Regions from separate parts of the Homo sapiens genome. Here region 2 is linked to region 1. Evidence: promoter capture Hi-C in 16 types of primary human blood cells and fetal thymus (Javierre and others, 2016). All regions are on one chromosome and are shown on one strand. The core of a region is centred on a gene start or on the middle of the fragment in contact, and the rest is flanking DNA. Distances in the headings are between cores, read along the strand shown.

Region 1 (6,996 bases), core at 4,489-6,988:
CCTCTACAAGCCAAGGAGAGAGGCTTCAGAAGAAATCAACCCTGCCGAAACCTTGATCTTGGACTTCTAGACCCTAGTACTGTAAGAAAATTAATTTTTGTGTTTGAGTCACCCAGCATATGGTACTTTGTCATGGGAGCCCTAGCAAATTAATACAGCCTTGGGAACAAGGTGAATTAGCACCTACAGGTCCCAGTTCATCAGATACCCCAGTGTAAGTCTGCCATTACATCTACTCAAGCTCATGTGAGGTGACAAAAAACCTAATCCTGTGTGGCAAGGAAAGATCAGGAACTGCAATATAAGAAAAGATGCAGCCAGGCATGGTGGCTCACACCTGTAATCCTAGCACTTTGAGAGGCCAAGGCAGGTGGATCACGAGGTCAGGAGTTCGAGACTAGCCTGACCAACATGGTGAAACCCCGTCTCTACTAAAAATACAAAAATTAGCTGGGCATGGTGGCGCATGCCTGTAATCCCAGCTACTCAGGAGGCTGAGGTGGGAAAATCACTTGAACCCAGGAGGTGGAGGTTGCAGTGAGCCACTGCATTCCAGCCTGGGCAACAGAGCAAGACTCCACCTCAAAAAAAAAAAAAAGAAAAGAAAAGATGCTCATTAATTTCCAAGCCTGGTTAATGCTTCCATGGACTAGCAGATGACAGGATACAAATCTTGTTTTGCTTTTTCCTGTTATTGGTGGAGGGAAATTTGAAATTGGTGTCATCTGCCCCTTCAGAAGATGGTTCATCTGGTATTTGCAAACTTGCTGCAGGCTTTCAAGTTCCTTCCACAACCATTCTGTTTGAGGCATCTGAAGGGCAAGTTTGGTCCCTAATCCTTGATTCCTCCATATTGTAAATGGCAGGCTTTTCCAATTGGTCCTGCTGCTGCTTTGTCTTTGAAAGTTGTGGAGAATGTGATGCCTCTAGATGTTTCCAAAAATGAAATGGAAATTTCACCTTAATTTTATGAAATGCATGTCTTTGCAAAAGGGTAAAGAAGGGAAATAATGATTTTTGAGCTATGGGCAGTATTCTGATGATTTCTGAACATTATCATGAGTTCTTGATACCTCCATTGTTGTTGGCGGGGATTTGAGTTTGAGTTGAGTGGAACTTCAGGTTTGTTTGGTTTGGTATTTACGTTTTTCCGTAGCTTTCCTACATATATATTCATTTCTGAATTCAAGTGGTTCATTTATTTCACACAAATAACTTTGGTTATGTGATTCAGTTTTTTGTTTTTGTTTTTATTTTTGTTTTAGATAGGGTCTTGCTCTGTCACCCAAGCTGGAGTACAGTGGCGTGATCATAGCTCACTGCTGCTTCGAACTCCTAGGCTCAGGTGATCCTCCCACCTCAGCCTCCCAAAGTGCTGGGATTACAGGCATGAGCCATCGCATCCAGCTCAAAATATTTTTAGGATCAATTTAATTCAAGGCCAAGCAAGTTGGTGTAGCTTATTATAGTTTTTGGTTTATGACTTATTTTTATTCAATGTCTTGGGTTTTATAAATAAAATCATAAACTTTAAAACTGTTCATAAAACTGTGAACTATATTTAAAAATCATCTGGCTGGCAACTCAGTTGGTTTTTATAATCTGAAAATTTATGCTTTTCTTCAACTCTGAGAATTTCTATTCTACTTTCCCATTATTACCTTCTTCTACTCTCTTTTCTTTCCTTTTGTAACTTCCATTAAGCAAATACTGGACCTTGGGGGATTTTGCCTACATGGCTTTCAACCATTTTCACATACTTTCCATCTCCTTTGTCTTTTGCCCGGTGTTTGGGGAAAATTTCTTTGGCTTCTGTTTCCACTAATTTGCCCTTCAAGTAGGTCTGTTCTGCTTCTCAACTAATGAATTTTCAATATCAGAAATGACTTTTTAAATTTCTAAGGTTTCTCACTGATTATTTGTTGTGGATGCAATATCCTTTCAAGACTTGCTGATTAAAATTAAATTATTTAACATTTATCTTGTTCCTTTTATTAACTTAGTTTCCTCTGATATTATTTCCTTCTATTAGTTGGGTTTGGTGCTTCTCTTTCATGGTATTGGTTCCCCTCTCCCCATAAGATATTTGGTGGTTGTCCTATCATCCCTTAATGTGGGAATGGGCTTGTCTCCTCTTTCTGCTTATCATAGCCTATCTTCAGGGGCTGTGAAGAAGGGTCAGGACATGCTATCCCAAGAGAGTGAATGGTTTCTGTCATTTCTTGGGGTCACTAGATCCCTGAGCTCTGCCCCTTGGGTCCCAGGATCCCCATTAACTTTTTTTTTAAGTCCTGCAGGCAAACACCTGATATTTAATGTGAGCAGGACAGAGGAGGCTCCTAAGTGAATTATTCTGTCTCAGGGCCCCTCCTCCTCTTGTATCCTTTAACTATTGCTTGCAACTTCCCTAAACTATTGCTCCTCCTGAATCTGTTTTGGTTTCCTCTGATTTTGTTTCTCTGTGAATCAGATCTTGCATCTTTTCTGTATCTCTGGATTTCTTGAACATTGTTGGAACACTGATCCCCTTTTCCTTATTTTCCTGTGCTTTTAGATGCCTGTTTCAGACATATCTTCTAATGAAATTTGGGGTAGAAGAGAAGCTAAATGCGTGTATTCAATCCACCATCTCCATCCAATCTTTACTTTTTAATTTATTTATCATCTCTACTTATTATTAAACAATACAAGCTTATTGTGAAAAACTCAAAGACTACAGAAATGGAAAGTGAAAGTTCCCTCTTATGTTAGATGATTCTAACATAAGTCTCAACTTATATCTTCTTGGCCTCACCTGTTGGTTTCAGCTAGACCTGAGTAGACAGTTCTGTGAAGGTTTACCCCCCACTCTCTGGCTGTCAACATCTATTCTCAAATGCACACCTTCTCTTCTGGCCCCAGAACTCTTCCAAATCTGCAGACTGCCTATGTGGAGCTTGCTGGGTAGCTCGGAAGTGTAGGTTTTCAACATGGGTGGGAGACCAGTGGGGGCAGTCCTTTGTCCAACCAGGATGAGGGTTAATCTCCTATCCTTCACATAGACAATTCCAAGAGGTATTCTATACTCTTCTGAGGAGGTCCCTCCAGACGTGATCCCTATTGCCCACAATGATGACCTTGATAACGAACATATGTATGTGTTTCCTTCTCCCTTCTTTTTTTTTTTTTTTTTTTGAAACAGAGTCTTGCTTTGTCACCCAGGTGGGAGTGCAGTGGCGTGATCTTGGCTCACTGCAGCCTATGCCTCCCAGGTTCAAGTGATTCTCCTGCCTCAGCTTCCCAAGTAGCTGGGATTACAGGTGCGCACCACCACACCCAGCTAATTTTTGTGTTTTTAGTAGAGATAGGGTTTTGCCATGTTGGCCAGGCTTGTCTTGAACTCCTGACCTCAAGTGATCCGCCTGCCTCGGCCTCCCAAAGTACTGGGATTACAGGTGTGAGTCACCATGCCCAACCTTTCTCCCTTCTTTTATTCTCCCAATTTCTCATTCCTGGCCACAGAGATCTGTTCCCCTTTCCCTATTATTTGACAATGCCCTTTCCTCACTGCAAGCCTAAATTTCCTCTCTTCCTCAGTTCTGATTTATCATTTCACTGTAACTCTATTAGCTGTAAAGCATTTGGGGATGCTGTCAGGATAACATGCTCTGTAGCAAATGAGGTTGTATTGAATTATTTAGCTTTCAGCTAAAGTGGAGATAACTAAAGCAGCTGAGCTGGTTTGTAAAATGTTGGGGTAATCTGTCTGCTGATTTGGAGTTTTATCATATTAATTTTTTCTTATGGTTGAAAATTATAAATTTTAAGGCTACAAAGAAAAATATGTATGCAACTATTCAGTTCAGTGCCACAGACCTATAGCTAAGGAATTATCTGGCTTGCATAGTATATAATTACGTAGCTGCAGAACCACCATTCTAGAGAACCATGAATTTATCTAATAAGTTTATTCATACAAGCTTTTAAAAAACCATAAATACATAATTTCCCTCCATTTTTTTCTAACAAAAATAGATGAAGGATTTCTTCTTGAGATATATAATAGTCTCAGCTTTTGAAGTTGGCCTGTTTTTCTTGAGCTTTCCTTGCCAGAATTTGACTTTTAAACATTTTTTTTCACAAAACAGAACTTTCTCTTTTTAACTCAGTAATAGAAAAATGCATTCTTAAATGTTGTCAACAAAGGGGAGGAGGGGATCACTGCGAATCTATCGATGACCATGAATGTTTTTGTATCCTCTTTCCCATATTACTAGTGTCTCTTGGAAAATTGAGCTGTAATAAGGATCCAGCCAAGAGGAGGGTGGAGTGAAGAATTCTGTGGCTCTGTAATACCTGGGGCGTTTGTCCCACTCAGCACATCTCAGTGTCTAAATACCCACCCTCAAGAAGTGGGACTGCAGCAGGAAGTGAAGTATCTTTGCATATGTTCAATATATAAACTAAACTCGAACATCTGGCAAACACCCCTTTCCTGGGTGAATTCTGGAAAACAGCACAATTATAATCCCAAGCAAATAACTCAGGAGTAAGACTGTTCCCTTGTTAAGAACACCAGGCAGCATCAGTAAAAGTTAAAACTTCTTCTGCATCTATGCGCTTTTAATCTCCACGGCCATTTCCATAATACCTGAGATTACCTGCGTTGATAGCTGGTGAGAAATCATCCCAGGCACCGCAGGTGGAGAAAAGAGATGAAAGCTACCTCAAGGCGTACACGTAAACCTTACTGAACAATGACCTTGATCGTTAGAAAGTCAAGAAAATGTACTGCCTTGCAAGCTGCCGGTGTTCTATTGAGTTTCTCTCCGGGGGCAACTCGGAGATGCCTTTTTGGCACCATCGGTTCTAGTATTTCCTCTGGCCTGCTGCGCCGCGCCTCATCCAGGCTTGTAGTGAGGCACCCCCACTCGCCCGGAGACCCGGGCCGGCCAGGAGGTGCCAGTGGGCAGGTGTGGCAGCCTGCCTGTTGATTACAGTCCCTACAATGTGCGAGCTCCTTGGGACTGCAGGCTGCGCGCCGCCAGCTTTGCCTGGTTCGTCCTGATTACACTAGGTTTTCGGGCAGAAACAGCGACACTGAGCTCGGGCTGGGGGTGGGGCCCTCGGGCCCAGTGCCCGCCCCCTGCCCTCCCACCGCCAGCCGAGAGAAGCCCGCCCGGGAGCGCGCTTTCTAATGCACCAGCCCCCGGGAACAATCTGTCCCTCCCAAACCCGCCACGGCGGGGGTTCACCTCCCGGGTACCCGCCGCGCCCACCCTATGGCCTAAATGTCTTTTCATATATTTTAAAAACTGAACTGTGTGCAGTGGGGATGCAGGGCGGGAAAGGCTGGAGGGCTCATTTTCGCCACCAGGCTTGCCTCTCCGGGCGCACGAATTAGGCCCGAGCTAGAGTCCAACCCCCTTCCCGCCTCAGGGGGCTCGGGGTGGCGCGGGGTTAGGGGCAATGAACGACGATGGAGGCGCCCCAGGCTCAGCGGCGGGCGGGGAGGCAGAGGCGGGTTCCAGGAGCCGGGCTGAGGCCCGGCAGGTGCCCCCAGGCGCGGAGGCTGATTGGCAGGTGCGTGAGTGGGTGGGGAAGGCGGGGGCTGGGCTTGGCGCTGCGGGAGGCTGCGGCCCCGCCTCCCCGCCCCCGCCGCGGGACTATCTGGTCCCGGCAGCAGCGATGTCCCCCGGCAGGAATGTCCCTCCTCAGATAATGTTATTTATATCTCTGGGCGGGTCCGCGGCTCGGCAGCACCAGGCGCCCGGCGGCCGCTGTGCCAGGAGCCCCGCGCTGCCCTCCTCCCCCTGCGCCGCCGCCGCCGCCACCCCCGGGCTCGGGGTGGCCCCCGCTTCAGTCCCAGGGCAGGTGAGTCCCAGGAGGGCCCGGCGGCCAAGGGAGCTGGGTGCGGGTGCGCAAGGCTGGGACGCGCGGCGCCAGCTCAAAGGAGCGCTGGGCCCAGGGGGCGCCTGACGCGCAGGGCCCAGAGGACCGGGTGGGAGTCCAGCCCCGGTTGTCGGGCGTGGGGTGGGAGGGGTGCGGGGCCCGGGAAGCCCGGCAGCTGCGGCAAAGATCATCCCGGGACGCGGGAACGCGCGCGGGCGTCCGAGGCACTTGGTGCTAGCTTTGGAGAGCGGGATCCCGGAGAGTCCGTCACCCCGGGGCGCAGGGAGAGGGTGACGGGGGTGCGTGTTCTCGTCCGCCTTCTCCAGGACCCCGGCCTGGGAGCGAAGGGGATTGCGCCTCTAGCCCGTCCGACCGCAGCGCTGCTCTCTGCCTTTTTTTGTCCGGCTTCTCAGCCTTGTGGCCGCTCATATCCCTCTTCTGGGGAACTTGGCTGCGCTCTCCTCGGGCCACCCAGCGCCCAGGCAGGAGGGACAGGTGAGGGCAGCAGAGGGGGCCGGGCCTCCGGGTGCTGGGAGCCACCCAGAGAGTGACCCCGTGTAGACCGAGGGAGGAAAGATCCTAGTGCCCCAAGCCATACTTCAAGGACCCCTAGTCTTCCTCTCCCAAAGAGTTCCTCTCTTCCTCTAAGCTTCTCCGGGCTACTCTACCCTCACCCTCCTCTCCAGTTTCCCCTCTTCCTCTAACTTGGTCTTGAGAAATAGCAGAAAGTGGGAGAAATAACAGAAGCTGTAAAACAATCCCCAACTCCCACCAACTCATCCGTACTTCCCAGGCTGGGGAAGCAGCTGCGGGGCTGGAGTGCTGTTTCCCTGACAACGAGCTTCAGGTAGGGCCTTGAGTTACAGCCTATTAATATCCAAACCACTGTTTTCAGTGAGCAATTAGAGGCGCCAGCCAGGAGTAAGGAAAATGAAAAGAAGCCACTGTTTTTTGTACATCTAAATTTTAGATGCATCAGATTGGGGGGTGGGGTGGGGGGATATAGTGACAGCCTTTTTGTACTGAGAATTTCTGTGGGGAGAGACTAGGCTGTCACCTCCAGGTAGGAGGCAGTCATGCAAAACCCCTGCCTGGAGGTAGTCACGATCCGTATTTTAGTTTCTA
Region 2 (7,359 bases), core at 4,217-6,716, 210 kb after region 1:
TGCACTCCAGACTGTGTAACAGAGTGAGACCCTGTCCCTCCCCACTCCAAAAAACCATGTGTGCCCCACTTTTTTTTTTGAGTTGGAGTCTCGCTCACTCTGTCACCCCAGCTAGAGTGCAGTGGCATGATCTCGGCTCACTGCAACCTCCACCTCCCAGGTTCAAGCAATTCTCCTGCCTCAGCCTCCTGAGTAGCTGGGATTACAGGCGTGTGCCATCACGCCCAGCTAATTTTTGTATTTTTAGTAGAGACAGGGTTTCACCATGTTGGCCAGGCTGGTCTCAAACTCCTGACCTCAAGGGATCCACCCGCCTCGGCCTCCCAAAGTGCTGGGATTACAGGCGCACCCGGCCGTGCCCCACTTTTTGATTGGAGCCCTGGAGCAGTCAGTCGCCTTCCAGCATGTCCTTATGTCCACCTGGAGTGGCTCCAGCAAAGTAGAGACAACAGCAAGGTGTGTTGAAGCTGGGACAGGGACCTTAGGTGTTCCACCCCTTTCACACTGCCCCACCTCAGTTCCCCTTGGCTTGAGTGCGGCTGGGAGAAACCCAGAAGTCCCTAGGAGGCCCTAGGGAATGCACAGGTGATTGAGAGCTGAGAGCCTGTGGACCTGCCTCAGGCTGAAGCCCAGAGATAAATGGAAAGCACTGGGGACATGGGAGGGGTTCCGGTTTGTATCTACAGGACCAGCAAAGCTGGCACAGGACCCACAAGCCGGGTAAACCACCAGGTCCTCCCAGCCAGACCCCTGACTGTGGATGTCAGCAGATGTAAAGGCCACTGAGGACCAGAGGGCAACACAGAGCCCTGCACCCAGAGTTATCCACAGGGTGGGGCTGGGAGCGGGAGAGGCAGGAAGGGGACACACCCAGAGAGGAGGTGACAGTCCAGGCAGGGACTTGGCTGAAATTTTATCCAAGAAGAGGCTGAACTAACTTAATAAAACTAACTAAATAAAACTTAATAAAGCGATTCTCCTGCCTCAGCCTCCTGAGTGGCTGGGATTACAGGCATGCGCCACCATGCCCAGCTAATTTTTGTATTTTTAGTAGAGACAGGGTTTCTGCATGTTGGTCAGGCTGGTCTTGAACTCCCAACCTCAGGTGATCTACCCACCTCGGCCTCCCAAACCTGAGAGGCGGAGGTTGCAGTGAGCCGAGATCACGACGTTGCACACCAGCCTGGGCAACAAGAGCGAAACTGTCTGAAAAAAAAACGTAACTTTCAATGAGTTTTGGCAAATGTGTACAATTGCGTAACTATCACCTCAGTTAAGATAAGGACAATTCCATCACCCCGAAAAGGTTCTTCATACCTTTGTGTAGTCAGTCATGCTCCCCTTACCCCCTCACCGACCTGATGTCCATCTCAGTAATTTGGCCTTTTCCAGAATTTTATATGAATAAAATCATGTAAAATGTAGCTTTTTTTTTTCTTTTTTTTGAGACAAGGTCTCACTCCTGTTGCCCAGGCTGGAGTGTAGTGGCAAGATTTCAGCTCACTGCAACCTTGACTTCCCAGGTTCTTGTGATCCTCCCACTTCAGCCTCCCGAGTAGTTGGGACTACAGGCACAACCGCCACACCCAGCTAACATTCTGTATTTTTATAGAGACAGAGTTTTGTCATGTTGCCCAGGCTGGTCTTGAACTAGGCTCAAGCAATCCACCTACATGAACCTCTCAAAACGCTAGGATTTCAGGCTTGAGCCACCGCGCCCAGCTTGTGCTAAACTTTTAAACGTTATTTCCTTTACTATCTCAGCTTCCTCCTCCTCCACTCAGCCTTCTCTGCGAATTGCTTTATATGGACAAAACTGGGACCAGCAGCAACCTCCACAGCTGCCCCAACCCCACCACCAGACCCTTGTGTGACAACAGTCCCCAGGGTCATGGGTCTGGATCGTTGACATTCTAATCTTATTGGTTCTCTGCAACACTTTCTTTGGGTTATTTCTCTCTTTTTTTTCCCCCACCTCTTAGGACACAGAAGCTCTTTCTTCAGATCCCCCCCACTTATAGCCCCCTCCTCTCCTCCTCACCTGTTGGCCCTCTGCCCTGGCAGCCTGGTTCCCCAGGGAATCCATGCACAAGGGCCTCCCTCCCTTCCATGCACTCCTCCCCTTCTGCACAATCTTCCTCCTCTCTTCTCATCGTCTGTCTTCTATCACCTTGTTTTCTGTGCCCAGGCCCTCTCGTGATCTCATTTGCCACAGATACACCCTGCTGCCCAGCTCCTGCCCGCAGGCATCATTTGATCGATGGGTTTGAGGTTTGTTGACAGTTGGGGTTTTTCTCTCTCAGTGAGGAAGAAGCAAGAAACCTCAACACTGCAATTTCCTCAACTCCCAGTGACGGTGACAAATTCTGAGGCTCCAGGGCGGGGGCTGTGTCTTCACATGCCCTGTGGAGTGTTGTCCTCACAGTGGTAAATAAATAAGGAGGTGAAAAGGTAAGACAAGAGGGAGCAGCATCTGTGCTTAGGGGCAGGGCTCAATTTGTCTGATGTGGGAGGACCTCAAAGGTGTCTCTCTTCTCACCTAGGCCAGACATTTGCAAGCTGACTGCCCTAAAGGAGCTGTACACACCTTCTTCATCCACCATGTGCCTTAGCAAAGGGTCACACCCAGGGAACTGAAGCTCTCTCTGTGTCTCTAGGGGTGGGAAGGCAGTGTCTGTGGTTATCCACCTCCATTCAGAGCCAAGTGAGTTCAGACTGCTGGGTTCTCGTCCTAAACTCTTTCACCGACTACCCCTGAGGCCTTGAGCAAGTGACCTAACCTCCTCCTCGTGCTTCTGTTTCCCCATCTTTACAATGACAGTCGTCATGGGGACAAATTCACTGGGTTGTAGTACAGATGGAATGAGAGCAAGCCGTCGCGCAGAAGACGTGCTCAACAAATGGAAACCACTGCTATCATTTTCATTCTTATTATCTCAATTTAGGAAACAAGGATCCCGACATTGCAAGCTATTCCAGGTGAAGCTAAAAAGAAGATAATCCCCAAGTCTCTGGGTAAAGAAACTCACTGCCACCCTCAATCAAATCAAAGCCAGATTCCGTGATGTTGGTAGTGAAGGGGAAGTCCCCCCAGGGGTGGGGTGGAGTGAGGTGTGGCTTTCCTTACCCATTGGTGGTACCAGTGAGACGAGGGAGAAATCTCCCAGGAAAGGTGAGCCTTGGAGGGCAAAACACAGCCAAGAGATCTAACCGCTTTTCCCATGTGGAGAGTCTCCTGCCAGCCAGAGCCAATCTCAGGAAATATGAGTTCGATTTTATTAAGGAAACCAACACGTTTCCTTCTGTCTAATGTAGCCTCTGTGTTATTCACATTGTTGGCTCCCAGGATGTGAAATGTCATCCTAGTACAGAACCCAGAAAAGAGTGGGCTGAATGTCTCTTTAGAGAGCTTTAGCCAACTATTTAAAAAAGTGGAGTCTACCTTCCTAACAGAGTTAATAATCACATGCCTTTATAGGAAGCAGTAGTAATAGTTGTGGTAATAATAACAGCTGACTTTTTCTCTTAGCAGTTGCAGTATAAGGTTCATAACCATCCTGTTAAGATGGTATTATTTATAGTCATCACTCAGTATCTTGCTGGGATTGGCTCCAGCACCCCCTTGGATACCAAAATCCACGGATACTCAAGTTTCTGATATAAAATGGTATAGTATTTGCATATAACCTAGGCACATCCTTCCATATACTTTTTTGTTTCTTTGTTTGTTTGTAACAGAGTCTTACTCCTTCGCCCAGGCTGGAGTGCAGTGTCATGATCATAGCTCACTGCAGCCTCAAACTCCTGTGCTAAAGCAATCCTCCTGCCTCAGCCTCCTGAGTAGCTGAGACTACAGGTGCACCACAGCACCAGGCTGATTTTTTTTTTAAGTTCTTATAGAGACAGGGTCTTACTAATGTTTACGAGGCTGATCTCAAACTCCTGGGGCCTTAGGCGATCCTCCTGCCTTGGCCTCCCAAAGTACCGTTATTACAGATATGAGACACTGTGCCTGGCCAACTTTCCTATACTTTAAATCATCTCTAGATAACTTATCATGTCAAATATTAATACAATGTAAATTCCATGCAAATGGTTGTTATACTATATTGTTTTTATCTGTATTATTTTTGTTGTATTGTTGTTTTTATTGTTGGGTTTTTTTCAATATTTTCTATCTGTGGTTGGTTGAATCCACAGATGTGGAAACTGTGGATATGGAAAGCTGACTGTATTAGAATTTTATAGAACAAGAAACTAAGGCTTCATTAATTTAAATAGCCTGCTAGGATCATAAAGATGGGAGGCATTCTCCAACCCTTGTTTGATTCTGGATTTGAACTTGGGTCAGCTTGAATTCAACGCCAGAGTGCCTAACAGTATTTTGTCTCTTAGAGGAGTCTAGATTGCAACTGCATTTCAACCTAGTAAGAAAAGCATGTATAAGATCTGCTTTCTTTCTGATCTCCTCTGGGTATTTGTTTTCTTATGAAAGTCTGAGAAAGTCGCAAAGTTCAGCCCCAAAGAATGAACAAGTGGTTCATTTCTGCCCCCTAGAGGAGGTAAGGAAGGTCATGGTTAAAATGAGTGTTCAGAATCGCAATAGATCCAGCCCTGCAATAGAGCCAAACCTAAAAACAAACTACTTTCAGTTCATGAAAGGGAGGTGATAATGGGTTAGGGATTATCTGGATCAAGAGTGAGAACAGTGTATCAGGGTCCTGCCTGGATATATACTGGATATATATATATATATAGTGTGTGTGGAGATATATATATATATATAGTGTGTGTGTGTGTGTGTGTGTGTGTGTGTGTGTGTATATATATACAGCTTGCATATATATATATACAGCTTGCATATATATATATACAGCTTGCATATATATATACAGCTTGCATATATATATACAGCTTGCATATATATATATATACAGCTTGCATATATATATATATACAGCTTGCATATATATATATATATATACAGCTTGCATATATATATATATACAGCTTGCATATATATATATATATATATACAGCTTGCATATATATATATATATATACAGCTTGCAAATATATATATATATATTTACAAGTATATATATATATATATATATATATATATATATATATATATATACACTGTTCTATCAGGGTCCTGAATAGACTCATTCTAGTCTAGTATTCAGACTAGAACTTTCATCTTTAACATGTGCCCCAAATGATTCTTTCACTAAGGCAACTTTGAGAAACAGGTGCATATAATTTATTCATCCAGCAAGGGCTTGAATAACACCTTCCATCCACAAGCCACTGTTACTAAGGCATTTGCTGGACCCCAAGGGAGTGGAGTCCACATCCCTGTCCTGAAGAAGCTTGGTCAATTACACTATCTCTCAGGGCCTTGCCTTTGTTATTGAGAAAATGGCTCATCTCTAAATGGTGTGAGAGCCAGGAGACCCATGTTGGACGTGCAGACAGGGTGCACTTTACTTAATCTCCTTGGACCTCAGTTTCCTTGTCTACAACATCAGAGGGTGAATACTCATCAAGCTTCCTCCTGTGGCAAGATTCTGAAGTTCCCAGGCCCTGTGGAGAGCGTACAGGGAAACCTTACTTAGGTGACCTGCTTAGGAGTCTGGTCTCCATGACTGTGCAGATCCACCTCCTGCCAAATGGCTCATGACAATCCCAGGAGCAGGCTGTGGTCTCCCTGATCCTGAGGTTCAGAGCTTTTGGTGTTCCCGTCACTGGCATTCACGCCACACTGTAGGAGCCTTCTTTTCATTGATGTAAACTCTGTTCACAAAAAGGGTCTGGGGAAAATAAAGTTGATTTGGAAAAAGAAATTTCTCTAGAAACCCAAATAAGGCTTCTTATTTCTAGAAACCCCCAAATAAGACTTCCTGAAATGTGGAGTCAGATGAACCAGCCTTTAAATCCTAGCTCTGTTACTCAATAGCTGTGTGATTTGAGGCAAGTCATCCATTTTAAACTTGGTCTCTTCATCTGTGGAATGGACATAAAAAGAGTACCCAAAGCTGGGTGTGGTGGCATGCACCTGTGTTCTCAGTGACTTGGCAAGAGGCTGAGGGAGGAAGGTGACTTGAGCCCAGGAATTTGAGGCCGTAGTGCACTACAATCATGCCTATGAATTGCCACTGCATTCCGGCTTGGGCAACATAGTGAGACCTCATCTCTAAAAATATATAGGTATAATAGAATAGTTTGTATCTCACTGAGTCATGGTGAAGATTAAATGAGACTAGACTAATACCTGGTGCATAATAGGTATGCTGAAATATTTCCTTTTTTTTTTTTTTTTTTTTTTGAGACGGAGTCTCGCCCTGTCACCCAGGCTAGAGTGTCGTGGCGCGATCTCGGCTCACTGCAAGCTCCACCTCCTGGGTTCACGCCATTCTCCTGCCTCAGCCTCCCGAGTAGCTGGGATTACAGGCGCCTACCACCACGCTCGGCTAATTTTTTTGTATTTTTTAGTAGATACGGGGTTTCACCATGTTAGCCAGGATGGTCTCGATCTCCTGACCTCGTGATCCGCCTGCCTCGGCCTCCCAAAGTGCTGGGATTACGGGCATGAGCCACTGCGCCCAGCCTATTTCCTATTGTTATTACGATTAATACTGCTGATGCTAGTTTTACCTTCAGAGACTGTTACAATTGGAAAATAAAGAAACAGTTCATAGTCAGGACCCCACCCAAGGATTTAGCACCCAAATCACTCCAGAGAACTCCAGCTCGACCTTGGCAGTCATCCAGGATGCCACATGTCCTCTCACTCTTGTTTAAAGATGTCCTAATAGAGCCAAACTTCTTTTGCCAAATTTCTCAAAATGAGTCCTTTAGTGGATCCTTGGGCTTATAGTACCACTACCACATCATCCAAGGGGCATGGCCATCTGGGTTTGAGGTTACAGAAAAAGAGAGGGGCCTAGGACCAGGGCCAAGGCAAGCTCATAGACACTCCTTGCAGGAGCAAGGTCAACAAGCAAGACCCATGAGGACTGAAATAAGGATCTACTTGACACTCAGATTGACTGCATTTGGAGAGCCAATAATTGCTGCCTTTGCCCTTATAATAAACTACAGCTTTTGAAGAAAATTTAAAAACAAAATAAAATCCACAAAAACATGCAGGCATTGCTGGGCAGCAGCAAACAAACATACTGGATTGTTCAGAAAGACTGCTAAGATCTTAAGAGCAAATTGTTTATAAACTGCAGAGAAAAGTTGTAATAAGAACTGGCTTCAGCACTAAAACACAGCTTTTGATTCTCCACCATCTCACTCCAACCCAAGAGAATAGCAGCAGCTGTTAGGTGTAAGGGAGCCTGTGGGCCT

The links. Contacts are between HindIII fragments. The CHiCAGO score rates a contact against its expected background, and 5 or more counts as called.
Region 2: a fragment that was not itself captured here is called in contact with the fragment with the promoter of SPTB in region 1 in 5 of 17 cell types (M0 macrophages, total CD4 T cells, M2 macrophages and 2 more); the score reaches 7.8 in M0 macrophages.

What each region holds. Positions count from the first base shown.
Region 1 is chr14:64,878,649-64,885,644 of GRCh38, reverse strand. SPTB (spectrin beta, erythrocytic) reads left to right here and starts at 5,738. Exons shown (of 36, transcript NM_001355436.2): 1 at 5,738-5,853. LOC105370534 (a long non-coding RNA gene) reads left to right here. Exons shown (of 3, transcript XR_943942.3): 3 at 4,257-4,764. RefSeq lists silencers at 5,118-5,197, 5,268-5,407, 5,458-5,627. The HindIII fragment of the contact is 2,561 bases long and covers 3,962-6,522 here.
Region 2 is chr14:64,668,902-64,676,260 of GRCh38, reverse strand. No RefSeq gene overlaps it. Among named protein-coding and RNA genes, the nearest start is that of PLEKHG3, 32 kb to the left of the region's middle. RefSeq lists enhancers at 1-374, 375-875. The HindIII fragment of the contact is 178 bases long and covers 5,378-5,555 here.